Linked DNA regions of Homo sapiens: region 1 is linked to region 2. The links are contacts of gene promoters, found by promoter capture Hi-C in human tissues and cell types (Jung and others, 2019). All regions are on one chromosome and are shown on one strand. The core of a region is centred on a gene start or on the middle of the fragment in contact, and the rest is flanking DNA. Distances in the headings are between cores, read along the strand shown. Region 1 overlaps ELL (elongation factor for RNA polymerase II). Region 2 holds the start of CRTC1 (CREB regulated transcription coactivator 1).

The links. The method cuts DNA at HindIII sites, captures the fragments that hold promoters and counts their contacts. A contact is called where the count stands out against the background at its distance.
Region 1: a contact is called between a fragment that was not itself captured here and the fragment with the promoter of CRTC1 in region 2, in 1 of the 25 tissues and cell types used here (dorsolateral prefrontal cortex).

Annotation. Positions count from the first base shown.
Region 1 is chr19:18,509,895-18,515,502 of GRCh38, reverse strand. All of the region lies in intron 1 of ELL (elongation factor for RNA polymerase II), which reads left to right. Among named protein-coding and RNA genes, the nearest start is that of ELL, 9.4 kb to the left of the region's middle. The HindIII fragment of the contact is 5,853 bases long and covers 361-5,608 here.
Region 2 is chr19:18,680,651-18,686,894 of GRCh38, reverse strand. CRTC1 (CREB regulated transcription coactivator 1) reads right to left here and starts at 3,215. Exons shown (of 14, transcript NM_015321.3): 1 at 3,067-3,215. The coding sequence starts at 3,192. RefSeq lists a silencer at 3,226-3,315 and an enhancer at 3,526-3,825. The HindIII fragment of the contact is 17,160 bases long and covers 1-6,244 here.

The DNA.
Region 1 (5,608 bases), core at 2,038-4,537, 170 kb after region 2:
ATATGGGTGGAGACTCTGGAGGAGGCTGAATCACCAGGCAGGATCTCCCAGCTGGGAAGTAGCTGAGAACTCAGAATCCAAGTGTCATGGCCTGGGCTCTGCCACCTCTGAAGGACTGTGGCCGCTGGATGGGCTGGGGTGGAACAGGTGGGCTGCCAGGAGGCATCAGGAGTGGCCCACTGGTGCACCAGGGTATGGTTTGCCTGTGTGTTTCAAGGTGAGCATTTGGTGGTTCTGGGTGGATTCTCCCAGAAGGTGCTAGAAGAGGACAAGCCAGCTTGAGTCTGTGGGCCCGAGCTGGCAGTCTCTGCAGGAGGCAGGCAAGAGTGTGTGTGAGGGACTGAGCTCTGCACTCGGCATCGTGACCCTTGACTGTGCTTTCAGCTGGTTGCCGTGGCTGTGATTGTGTGTAAACAGCAGGCAGCGCTCACTCGGAAACCCACCCCTCTGTTGACTCACGGCCAAGGCCGTAGTTCATCACCTTTGAAGCAGTTTTGACATCACACCCGGATTGTGACATCCCGACTGGGAGACCTTGAGGGAGGAACCCGCCAGCCTGACAAACAGGATTGCCTCTCTGCTCCACGTAGCCCTGGGCTCGAAGCAGCTGCCCAGGGAAGAGACCCTAGTTTTCAGAGGTCTGCTTCTCAGGGGGCATCAGCCTTGTTTAAGGCACCTGGCAGGGCACAGACTTGTGATTGATACTGCACATTTTGGGTTTGGCCTCTTCTGTGTCCTTTGTTTTAGGGTCTTGCTCCCCGTTGTGCTTTCTGCCTTGATGAATTCAGTTGTTACACTTTCTCCTTGGTCTCTGAATCTCATGGACAGGGTTGTCTTCAATCTCACCTGTGTAGTCAGCCACAGAGTCCAAAGGGAAATGTAGAACAATGCATCCAAATGGCCTGTGACCTGCAGGTGCAGTGAATGACAGAGATGGCCATGACATGTGGTTATTTTGTCACTTTGCTTTTTTTTTTTTTTTTTTTTTTGAGATGGAGTCTCACTCTGTTGCCCAGGCTGGAGTGCAGTGGTGTGATCTCAGCTCACTGCAAACTCTGCCTCCCAGGTTCACGCCATTCTCCTGCCTCAGCCTTCTGAGTAGCTGGGACTACAGGCGCCCGTCACCACACCCGGCTAATTTTTTTGTATTTTTAGTAGAGATGGGGTTTCACCGTGTTAGCCAGGATGGTCTCGATCTCTTGACCTCGTGATCTGCTTGCCTTGGCCTCCCAAAGTGCTGGGATTAACAGGTGCGAGCCACCGTGCCCGGCTGTCACTTTGCTTTTTAATGAAAAAAGCTGGTGTCCAAATAAACCATCCGCAGGGAGACTATTCTCCCAGATAAAAGCGTCCTAGAGACCTCCCGCCTCCATCTGACCTGGCAGTGGGCCCCAGAGTCTGATGCTAATTATATCCTCCAGGGCTGGACCCTCCTGACCAAGTGGAGACACGGCTCCTGACTGAGGCAGCCAGGCCAGCAGATGTGTTTGTGAAGGGGTAGGGCTTCGAGTTCTGGTCAAGTTTGTGGAATAACTGAATTCCGATTTTTTTGTTTTGTTTTGTTTTGTTTTTGAGATGGAGTCTCGCTCTGTCGCCCAGTCTGGAGTGCAGTGGTGTGATCTTGGCTCACTGCAACCTCTGCCTCCCAGGTTCATGCCATTCTCCTGCCTCAGCCTCTTGCGTAGCTGGGACTACAGGCGCCCGCCACCACGCCCGGCTAATTTTTTGTGTTTTTAGTAGAGACAGGGTTTCACCGTGTTAGCCAGGATGGTCTCCATCTCCTGACCTTGTGATCCGCCCGCCTCAGCCTCCCAAAGTGCTGGGATTACAGGCGTGAGCCACTGGGCCCAGCCTGAACTCCTGTTTTAAAAGCATCCTGTGAAGTTTTTTTTTTCCTTTTTACTATATAAGCAGTATAACTCAGGGTAGAAAGCCTGCAATGTACCTAAAATTAGCAAGTCTGTTCTCATTGCCCCAGGTAATTTCTGTTGACACCTTTGCACCCTCCTCTGTCTCGCCTGGGTGTACCGTGTTGTCATAGTGGCACAATCATATGGTTTTGCGTCTCTTCTTCCCTGAACACTTTATGTTTTAATGCTGCACCTTCTGTGCATCGTGGAGCCTGACAGGTCAGTATTCTTCGGGCATTTTTGTGTTCTTGGCACTATGCTTGGTTCTGGGGATGTCCGGATGCTGCAGGCCTTGTGTGTGTACAGGCCAGTCCACTGTCCCGTAGTGAGGCTACATAGAGCGATGAGGTGAGGTGAGGCAGGTGACCCAGCACAGGCCACGGCCTGGCATGCCCATGTGTCTGTGAGTGGAGCCTGGAGTATGAGGCTGCGATTTTGAGGCCAGGGAAGGCAGCTCAGCCCCGCTTGGCTTGCTCCTCTTTGGACAAATTGAGCTGCTGGTGATGGAGGGCTGTGGTCAGTCCTTCTCACCGTTCTTCAGATGGGGAGACCGCAAGTATATACCCTACTGTTAACACCCCTGTCCTTCCCCCAGGCCCATCGGGGGCCTCAGCTCTTCATGAGATGCTGTTGTTGCGCCCCGTGTCCTTTTTATATGTTGGTGAAAATGTTTTCACAAAGAGGCGTCTCTCTTGAAGGATGCTGAGAACTGCATATTGGGGATCAGGTACATTGGTGGCGCTGCTCCCACTGACAATTTGGGGCTCCAGGCTGCTGGCACCCTCCCTGAGCCTCAACTTCCCAATTCAGGTGAAGGTGTTGTCCTAGAGGTGAGACAGGCTTGTTCTCCCTGGCTGTGCACGAGGTGTCAGCTGCTCTCCTCGTTGACCCAAAAAATGATCCCAGAAAGCAAAGCCTCCAAAATTTAAAATAGCTTCTCCTATAGCTCTGCTGTTAGGGTTTTATTGTTTTTTTTCTGAAATAGAGAACTGGCTTCCTAGTTTTGGCTCATTGCAACCTCTGCCTCCCAGGCTCAAGCAATCCTCCCACCTCAGCCTCCTAAATAGCTGGTACTACAGACACCCATCATCACGCCTGGTTGCTTTTTGTATGTTTTTGTAGAGATGGGGTTTCACCATGTTGCCCAGGGTGGTCTTGAACTTCTGAGCTGAAGCGACCTGCCCGCCTTGGCCTCCCAAAATGCCGGGATTACAGGCGTGAGTCACCGCACCTGGCCTGTTTCTTTATTTTTATTTCTTTATTTTTGAGACGGAGCTTTCTGCTCTGTTGCCCAGACTGGAGTGCAATCACGTGATCACAGCTCACTGCAGCCTCAACATCCTGGGCTCAAGCGATCCTCCCACCTCAGCCTCCCCAGTAGTTGGGACTACAGGCATATGCTATCACACTCAACTAATTTTTTTTCTTTTTTTTTTTTGAGACGGAGTCTTACTCTGTCGCCTAGACTGGAGTGCAGTGGCATGATCTTGGCTCACTGCAACCTCTGCCCCCTGGGTTCAAGCGATTCCCCTGCCTCAGCCTCCCCAGTAGCTGGGATTACAGGCATCTGCCACCATGCCCGGCTAATTTTTGTATTTTTAGTAGAGACGGGGTTTCACCATCTTGGCCAGGCTGGTTTTGAACTCCTGACCTCATGATCCATCCACCTCGGCCTCCCAGAGTGCTGGGATTACAGGCGTGAGTCACTGTGCCCGGCCCTTTTTTTTTTTTTAATTTGTAGAGGCAGGGTCTCACTGTGTTGCGCAGGCTGGTCTCGAACTCCTGGGCTCAAGCAGTCCTCCAACCTCAGCCTCCCAAAATGCTGGGATTACAAGCTTGAGCCACTGTGCCTGGCCAGCTTCCTGGTTTCTTTAGCAATTTTCCCACTGGAAAGCCCACAGCACTGTCAGAGGGAGCTGGGGCCCCCTGTACTTCCACCTTCTCCATCAGGCCCCCTCCGGTGGTATGGTGGGTGGTGGGCAGTGGGCAGGGAACCAGACTGATGTCCTGTGGTGTGGATGGACCACATCGTGCTCATCCATTCCTCTGTCCATGGGCATTTGGGTTGCTTCCACCTCTTGACTGTAGTGAACCATGCTACTGTGAACAGGGCATGTAAGTATCTGTTCAAACCCCTGCTTTCAGTTCTTTTGGATACATACCCAGAAGTAGACCTGTTGGATCGCCGAGGCTGGAGTGCAGTGACGTGATCTTGACTCACTGCAACCTCTGCCTCCCAGGTTGAAGCAATTCTCCTGCCTCAGCCTCCCAAGTAGCTGGGATTACAGGCGCCCACCACCACGCCAAGTTAATTTTTTTTTTTTTTGAGACGGAGTTTCGCTCTGTCACCCAGGCTGGAGTGCAGTGGTGCTATCTCAGCTCACTGCAAGCTCTACCTCCCGGGTTCATGCCATTCTCCTACCTCAGCCTCCCGAGTAGCTGGGACTACAGGCGCCCACCACCATGCCTGGCTAATTTTTTATATTTTTAGTAGAGATGGGGTTTCACCATGTTAACCAGGATGGTCTCGATCTCCTGACCTCATGATCTGCCCGCCTCAGCCTCCCAAAGTGCTGGGATTACAGGCATGAGCCACCGCACCCGGCCCATGCGTAGCTAATTTTTATATTTTTAGTAGAGACGGGGTTTCACCATGTTGGCCATGCTGGTCTTGAACTCCTGACCTCAGGTTATCTGTCCACCTCGGCCTCCCAAAGTGCTGGGATTAGAGGTGTGAGACACTGCTCCCGGCCTCATTTGGTCATTCTGTGTTTAATTTTTTGAGGATTTGCCAGATTGTTTTCCACAGCGGCTGCAGCATTTTACATTCCCACCAGCCGTGCACAAGGGTTGTGGTTTCGCCACGTCCTTGCCCGAACTGGTTATTTTTTGATGGTAGCCATCTTAATGGGTGTGGGGTGGTCTTGGAGCCATTTAAATGCCCTCATGTATGTGACTGTCCTGTGAGAGCTAGGACCTGCAGGGCCTCTGATGCCCCTGGATGGACCCAGGAGTCACCTGGTCACAGGTGACAGAGGAAGGTCTCGAGCAGGATCACCTGGGCTCAGGTGAGAGAAAGGGACAGGGAGAGCCCGGTGTGGCTCTGCAGTGAGGGAAGCTGGGGCTGAGTGGAGATGACAGTGGCTACGTGCCCTGCTTCTGCATAGCCAGTGTGCGGTTGCCCGGCCTGTGTTGGGATGCAGGTTTCTCTTTTTGTTTTGAGACCGAGTCTCACTCTGTCACCCAGGCTGGAGTGTGCAGTGGTGTGATTCTTGGCTCACTGCAACCTCCACCTCCCAGGTTCAAGCAATTCTCGTGCCTCAGCCTCCAAATTAGCTGGGATTACAGGCTTGCGCCACAATGCCCAGCTAAGTTTTTTGTGTTTTTAGTAGAGACGGGGTTTCACCATGCTGGCCAGGCTGGCCTCAAACTCCTGGCCTCAAGTGATCCACCCACCTTGGCCTCCCAAAGTGCTGGGATTACAGGCGTGAGCCATCGTGCCCAGCTGGGACATGGGTTTCTGTAAGCAGTGAGGGTTAGGAAGGGCCTTGGGTGAGGTTGGCCAGGGTGGTTGAGCCTCTCAGTGGCAGGACTTCTGAGCCCTGCAGGTACTGAGGCTTCAGGGCCCTTCTCAGGCAAAGAGCTCAGATGGGTGCAGAATCTCTATTTTTAGCCCTTTTTGGATTAAGCTTTTGTGG
Region 2 (6,244 bases), core at 1,966-4,465:
AGAAGCACTCCCTAATCATGATGACCCAAAATGTCTCCAGACATCACCAAGTGTCCCCTGGGGGGCAGAATCACCCCCTGCCCCAGAAAGAGAACAATGCTTTGTGTCTAAAAATCTAGTGTGAACTCACCTCTGCCCAGAGCCCATGCTCCCCTGACCCCAGGTGATGAGGAAGATGGGAAATGGTTTCCAGGGCTGAAAGAACTGCCACCTGCATATCTTCAGAATCTTGTTTTTGTTTTTGTTTTGAGATGGAGTCTCACTCTGTTGCCAAGGCTGGAGTACAGTGACACAATCTCAGCTCACTGCAACCTCCACTTCCCAGGTTCAAGCGATTCTTCTGTCTAAGCCTCCCGAGTAGCTGGGATTACAGGCATGTGCCACCACACCCGACTAATTTTTGTATTTTTAGTGGAGACGGGTTTCACCATGTTGGCCAGGCTGGTCTCGAACTCCTGACCTCAGGTCATCCACTCACCTTGGCCTCCCAAAGTGCTGGGATTACAAGTGTGAGCCACTGCACTTGGCCTCAGAATTTTTCTAAATTCATTGACTGATGAATGGATAAACAAATACAATATATCCATACAACGGAATATTACTTGACCCTAAAAAGGAACGAAGCACTGATCCATGATACTACAGAGATGAACCTTGAAAACATGACGCTGAGTGAAAGATGCCAGTCACAAAAGGCCACGTGTTGTGTGATTCCATTTATATAAAATGCCCAGAATAGGAAAACCCACAGAGACAGAAGACAGCTTAGTGCTTGCCAGGGGCTAGGGGAGGGGGAATGGGGAGTGACTGTTAATGGGGACGGGGTTTCTTTCTGGGTGGATAAAAAATGTTCTGGAATTACAAAATAGGGGTGGTTGCACAACTCTGTGAATATACTAAAAACCACCAAACTGTACACTTTAAACAAGTAAATTGTATGATGTGTGAATCATATCTCAATAAAGCTATTATTTTAAAGAGATGTTTTCAACAACAATAATCTATTTCCAATCCCACGCAGAAACTGGACTTCTAATCAGAATGACACCCATGAACCTACTGTGACCCCTTTCTTCCGGTCACACTGCAAACATTTGACAACAACTGCATGCCAGCACACACCATGTGCTGGAGACAAAAAGAAGTGGCCACTCCTGCCTCAGAAGCCCTGATATGTGGGGGACACTCACGTGGAAGGATGCTCAAGTTGCACACTTTCTTCTTATTTTCTTTTTTTGAAATGGAGTTTCACTCTTGTCACCCAGGCTGGAGTACAGTAACATGATCTCGGCTCACTGCAACCTCCACCTCCCAGGTTCAAGTGATTCTCCCACCTCAACCTCCCCAGTAGCTGGGATTACAGGTAGCTACCACCACGTCCGGCTAATTTTTATATTTTTAGTACAGACAGGGTTTCACCACGTTGGCCAGGCTGGTCTCGAACTCCTAACCTCAGGTGATCCACTGCCTCAGCCTTCCAAAGTGCTGGGATTACAGGCATGAGCCACCACACCTGGCCATTTTCTTATTTTTTTTTCATTCATTCATTCACCAGCCATCTCTTTCTCTACATCCTGAGCAAGAATGTAGCTGCTTGGAGCTGGGAGGACAGATGTGGCACACTCACCGAGCATGCCTAAAGCAGTACCTGGGTGACAGTGAGCTCCCAATCATTACCAACACAGAAATGAAGACACAAATCCTAGTCTATAAGGTCACAATCTCTCAGAGAAACAAACAACTAGTTACAAAGTAACACAGACTGAAAGTGCTACCTAAGGAATCAGAGACTGAGGTTAAGTCTACCTGAGCCAGTCACATCAGTGGCTGAATCTGGAAACCAGGGATACGAGCATCTGCAAAGCCCACCCAAACCCTCCCCAAGGCCCCAGGATGCAGGAGAGAGGTCTCACCACACTGCAAGAACAAAGTGGAGATTCAGCATCACCTTTGCAGAGTGTGCTCACCACCCTGCCCCAAGAGGAAGGTCTTGCTAGAATGCCTGACAAGAAACTGAGGCCTGAGGAACTCGGGTGCCTTGCCGTGCTCAGACACCAGCCCCAAGCCCCTGCTCCTGGCCCACAGCAACTTCCCAGGTGAGATTTGCAGGGTATCTGCTCTGCCAGACAGGAGCCTGGCAGAACCTGGCCTGCCCCTGCACACCAAATGCGCCCAGCCACCTGAGGCAGACCTGGCCCTCCACCCTGGTCCTGAGAGGGCAGGGGCTGTGGTCAGCATCCCCTGTTCCACTGGGAGGAACATCACCTGGCCCCCACCATATGGGCTACATGGAGAAGGGGCAGCTGTCTCCACTCCAAGTTCCAGGACTGAGCACAATCTGCCTTCTTGGCCCCCCTCTGGACCCCCTGGGGGACAGGATCTGACCATTCCCTCAGCTGTCCAAGAGGGAGAGATCCCTGTCCCACCTCAGCTCTGCAAGTGGGGACATCCGTTCCTCCCCCAACACCCAGGGAGTAAAGGCACAGGTAACCATGACGTAGAGACACCGGTCCCCCTCAGGTAGCAAGAATGGGAGGGCATCTGTCCCTCCCAGGTAGCAAGGATGCGGGGGCACTTGCACCCTCACCCCCAGCTACCAATGGTGCTTGCAAGCAGCACCCAGCTCATACACCTGTGTCATCCTGCCCCCCCAGGTAGCAATGATGCGGGGGCACCTGTCCCTTCCAGGTAGTAATAATGTGGGGCACCTGTCCCCCTCGGGTAACAATGATGTAGGGACACCTGTCCCCTGTCAGGTAACGACGAGGTACTAGCACCTGTTCCCTCCTAGTAGTAATGATATAGAGGCCCCTGTCTCCTCCGGGGAGCAGTGATGCAGGGCACCTGTACCCCATCAGGTATGGATTTTGTGGGGTCACCTGTCCCGCCCACGACGCCCGGGGCGTGGGGACACCTGTCCCCCTCGGGCCGTGCCAAGCCCCGCCCCCGCCGCGCGCGCCCCGCCCCCGCCGCGCCCCCCCCCACCCCGCCCCGTGCACGCGCCGGACACGCGCCCCCTCCCTCCCTCCGCCGGCCCTGAAGGGTCGGCGCGGGCAGCCCCCTTACCCGCGCGGCCCGCGTCAGGCTCAGGTCCTTCATGACCTCCTCGAAGGCCGCCGTCTCCTCCGCCTGCTTCTGATTGTGCAGCGCGATCTTCTCGCTGAATTTCCGCGGATTGTTCGAAGTCGCCATCTTCTCGCCGCCACCTCCTCCTCCTCCTCCTCCTCCTCCACCTCCTCGCCCCCCCACTCGCCCGTGCCACCGCGCAAGCGCCGGCTGGGCCCACGGGCGGCGAGCAGTGCGCAGGCGCGCCGGCGGTCGTGAGCGCGGCGCAGGCGCACAGGAGCGGCGCGCGGCGCGGGGGCGAAGGCGCATGCGCGCGCCCAGGCGCGCGCTCGGGGCCCGCGGGAAGGGCGGTGGAGCGCGAGTGGAAATTTCAACGCCGACGCAGTGATCCGCCTCCTGGCCCGCTGGACAGCGGCCTCTGGGCTGTTGGACAAGGACCGCGGATCGGCTGGGGCACTGGAGCCCCCAAGAGGGAGACGGCCTGACCCAGATCCTCCCAATTCACAAGGGTGGGGCCAGGCACCCCCCCCCGCAAGGATTGGTGGCACCCCAAGTTGAACCTGGGTTTGGACTAAGAGCTCTGAAAACAGACTAGGGCGTTGGTCACTCATGCATTCATTCATTCAAGGAATATTTACTGAGCACCTACTATGTGCCAGGCAAACTGGAGTACAGGCGTGAACAAGCAGAGGTGATCCCTGCCCTTATGGAGTGTACAGTCAGAGAGGGGGCAGACATAGCACACAAATAACCAAGAACTTTTCAGATGGAGGTAAATGTGATGCGGTAAATAAGACCAGTGGCCAGCCACAGAACATTAGGGAGGGAGGCTCCTGCAGCCACCACAGACAGGGAGGCGGAAAGTTATCTTAGCTAAGACCTGAACCCTGCAATCGGCTCTCTCAGTCCATAAACCTAGCTGTTGCCCTTAACGACTTTCTTTTTTTTTTTTTTTTTTCCCTTGAGACCGAGTTTTGCCCTTGTCGCCCAGACTGGAATGCAGTGGTGCGATCTCGGCTCACTGCAACCTCCTCCTCCCAGGTTCAAGCCATTCTCCTGCCTCAGCCTCTCCAGTAGCTAGGATTACAGGCAGGCGCCACCACGCCCAGCTAATTTTTTTATTTTCAGTAGAGACTAAAGACCATGTTGGCCAGGCTGGTCTTGAACTCCTGACAGCAGGTGATCCACCCGCCTCGCCCTCCCTAAGTGCTGGGATTACAGGCGTGAGCCACCATGTCCAGCCGACGACTACTTTTTCCCATTCCCTTGCAATGGGCATATTGCTATTCTCTGGATACCTGAGCCCAAAGAACTGGAGTTACAGAGCTTCAGCCTTCCCTCTGCATACTTCTCCAGTCCAGTCTTGTTCAAGGATCTCTATTTTGCAACAAGGTGCTAACAGAAGGGTCCAGAAATCCCATCAAGACTCAGCAGTGAAGGAAGGAGCAGAGACTCCCCCGATGGCAGAGTGGTAAGCCAGGGAAGCAGGAGGGACTCTAACCCTCCCTCCCTCAAGAGAGGGACCCCCAACCACCAATATTGAAAGTTTATATTCAGGAGGCTGCAGGGATTTCAGAGTATGGGCTGGGTGGAAGCTAGGAAGGTCAGCTGGGGGAATTGATGATGGCTCTAATGGCACAACAAGCACACATTTTATTGGACTGAGGATGGCTGGAGGGGATGCTGACATCTTCCAAACATGCTTTGATTCATGCTTTACAACAGGTAATAAAATGCTCATGTTAAATATATATATATATATATCGATTTTCATTTAGAATGCCTTGGATATTGCCACTGCCCTACTTTATCTTTGTTTTGAGACAGAGTCTCACTCTGTCGCCCAGGCTAGAGTGCAGTGGCGCAACCTTGGCTCACTGCAATCTCTGCCTCTCAGGTTCAAGCGATTCTCCTACCTCAGCCTCCCAAGTAGCTGGGATTACAGGCATGCACCATGATGCTCAGCTAATTTTTATGGGATTTTTTTTTTTTTTTTTTTTTTGAGACGGAGTCTCTGTTTCCCAGGCTGGAGTGCAGTGGCACAGACTCAGCTCACTGCAACCTCTGCCTCTGGGGTTTAAGTGATTCTCCTGCCTCAGCCTCCCAAGTAGCTGGAATTACAGGAACCCACCACCACACCCGGCTACTTTTTGTATTTTTAGTAGAGACAGGGTTTCACCGTGTTGGCCAGGCTGGTCTTGAACTTCTGACCTCAGGTGATCCGCCCGCCTCAGCCTCCCAAAGTGCTGGGATTACAGACATGAGCCACCGCACCCGGCCATCTTCCTTCTTGATATGATTTTGCGCACTTTGGTAAGCTCCTATACTTTTTGCCTAACAAGCATATTCCTTCTCTCAACCCCACCCACTCCCTCAACTTTTTAGTGTCAACAACCCTTATTTGGGGAACACTGGTTCTGACTTTCAGTCTGTGAGATGTGAATGGCTGGTCTCACCACTCTCCCACCACACAAACACCCCTCCCTAAGGTGGAAGTCTTGGCCAATCAGCATAGCCCATTGTGCTGGCCATCAAGATTGGTTCAGGCCAGGCTGGGTGTTGTGGCTCATGCCTGTAATCCCAGAACTTGGGAGGCCGAGGCAGGAGGATCATTTGAGCCCAGGAGCTTGAGACCAGCCTGGGCAACATAGCGAGATTTAATCTCCACTAAAAATAAAAAAATTACCTGCGCGTGGTGATGCCTGCTTATAATCCCAGCTACTCAGGAGGCTGAGACAGGAGGATTGCTTGAGCCTGGGAGATGGAGGCTGCAGTGAGCTATGATAATGCACTGCACTCCAGCCTGGGTGACAGAGCAAGACCCTGTCTCAAACAAACAAACAAACAAACAAACAAAAAACAGGCTGGGCGCTGGGTCATGACTGTAATCCCTACACTTTTGGAGGCAGAGGCGGGCAGAACACCTGAGGTCAGGAGTTTGAGACCAGACTGGCCAACATGGTGAAACCCCATCTCGACTAAAAATACAAAAAAAATTAGCCAGACGCGGTGGCACACGCCTGTAATTCCAGCTGCTGGGGAGGCTGAGGCAGGAAAATCACTTGAACCCAGGAGGTGGAGGTTGCAGTGAGCCAAGATAGCGCCACTTCACTCTAGCCTGGGCAACAGAGGGAGACTTTGTCTCAAAAAAAAACAAAAGATTAGTTCAGCTGGGCCA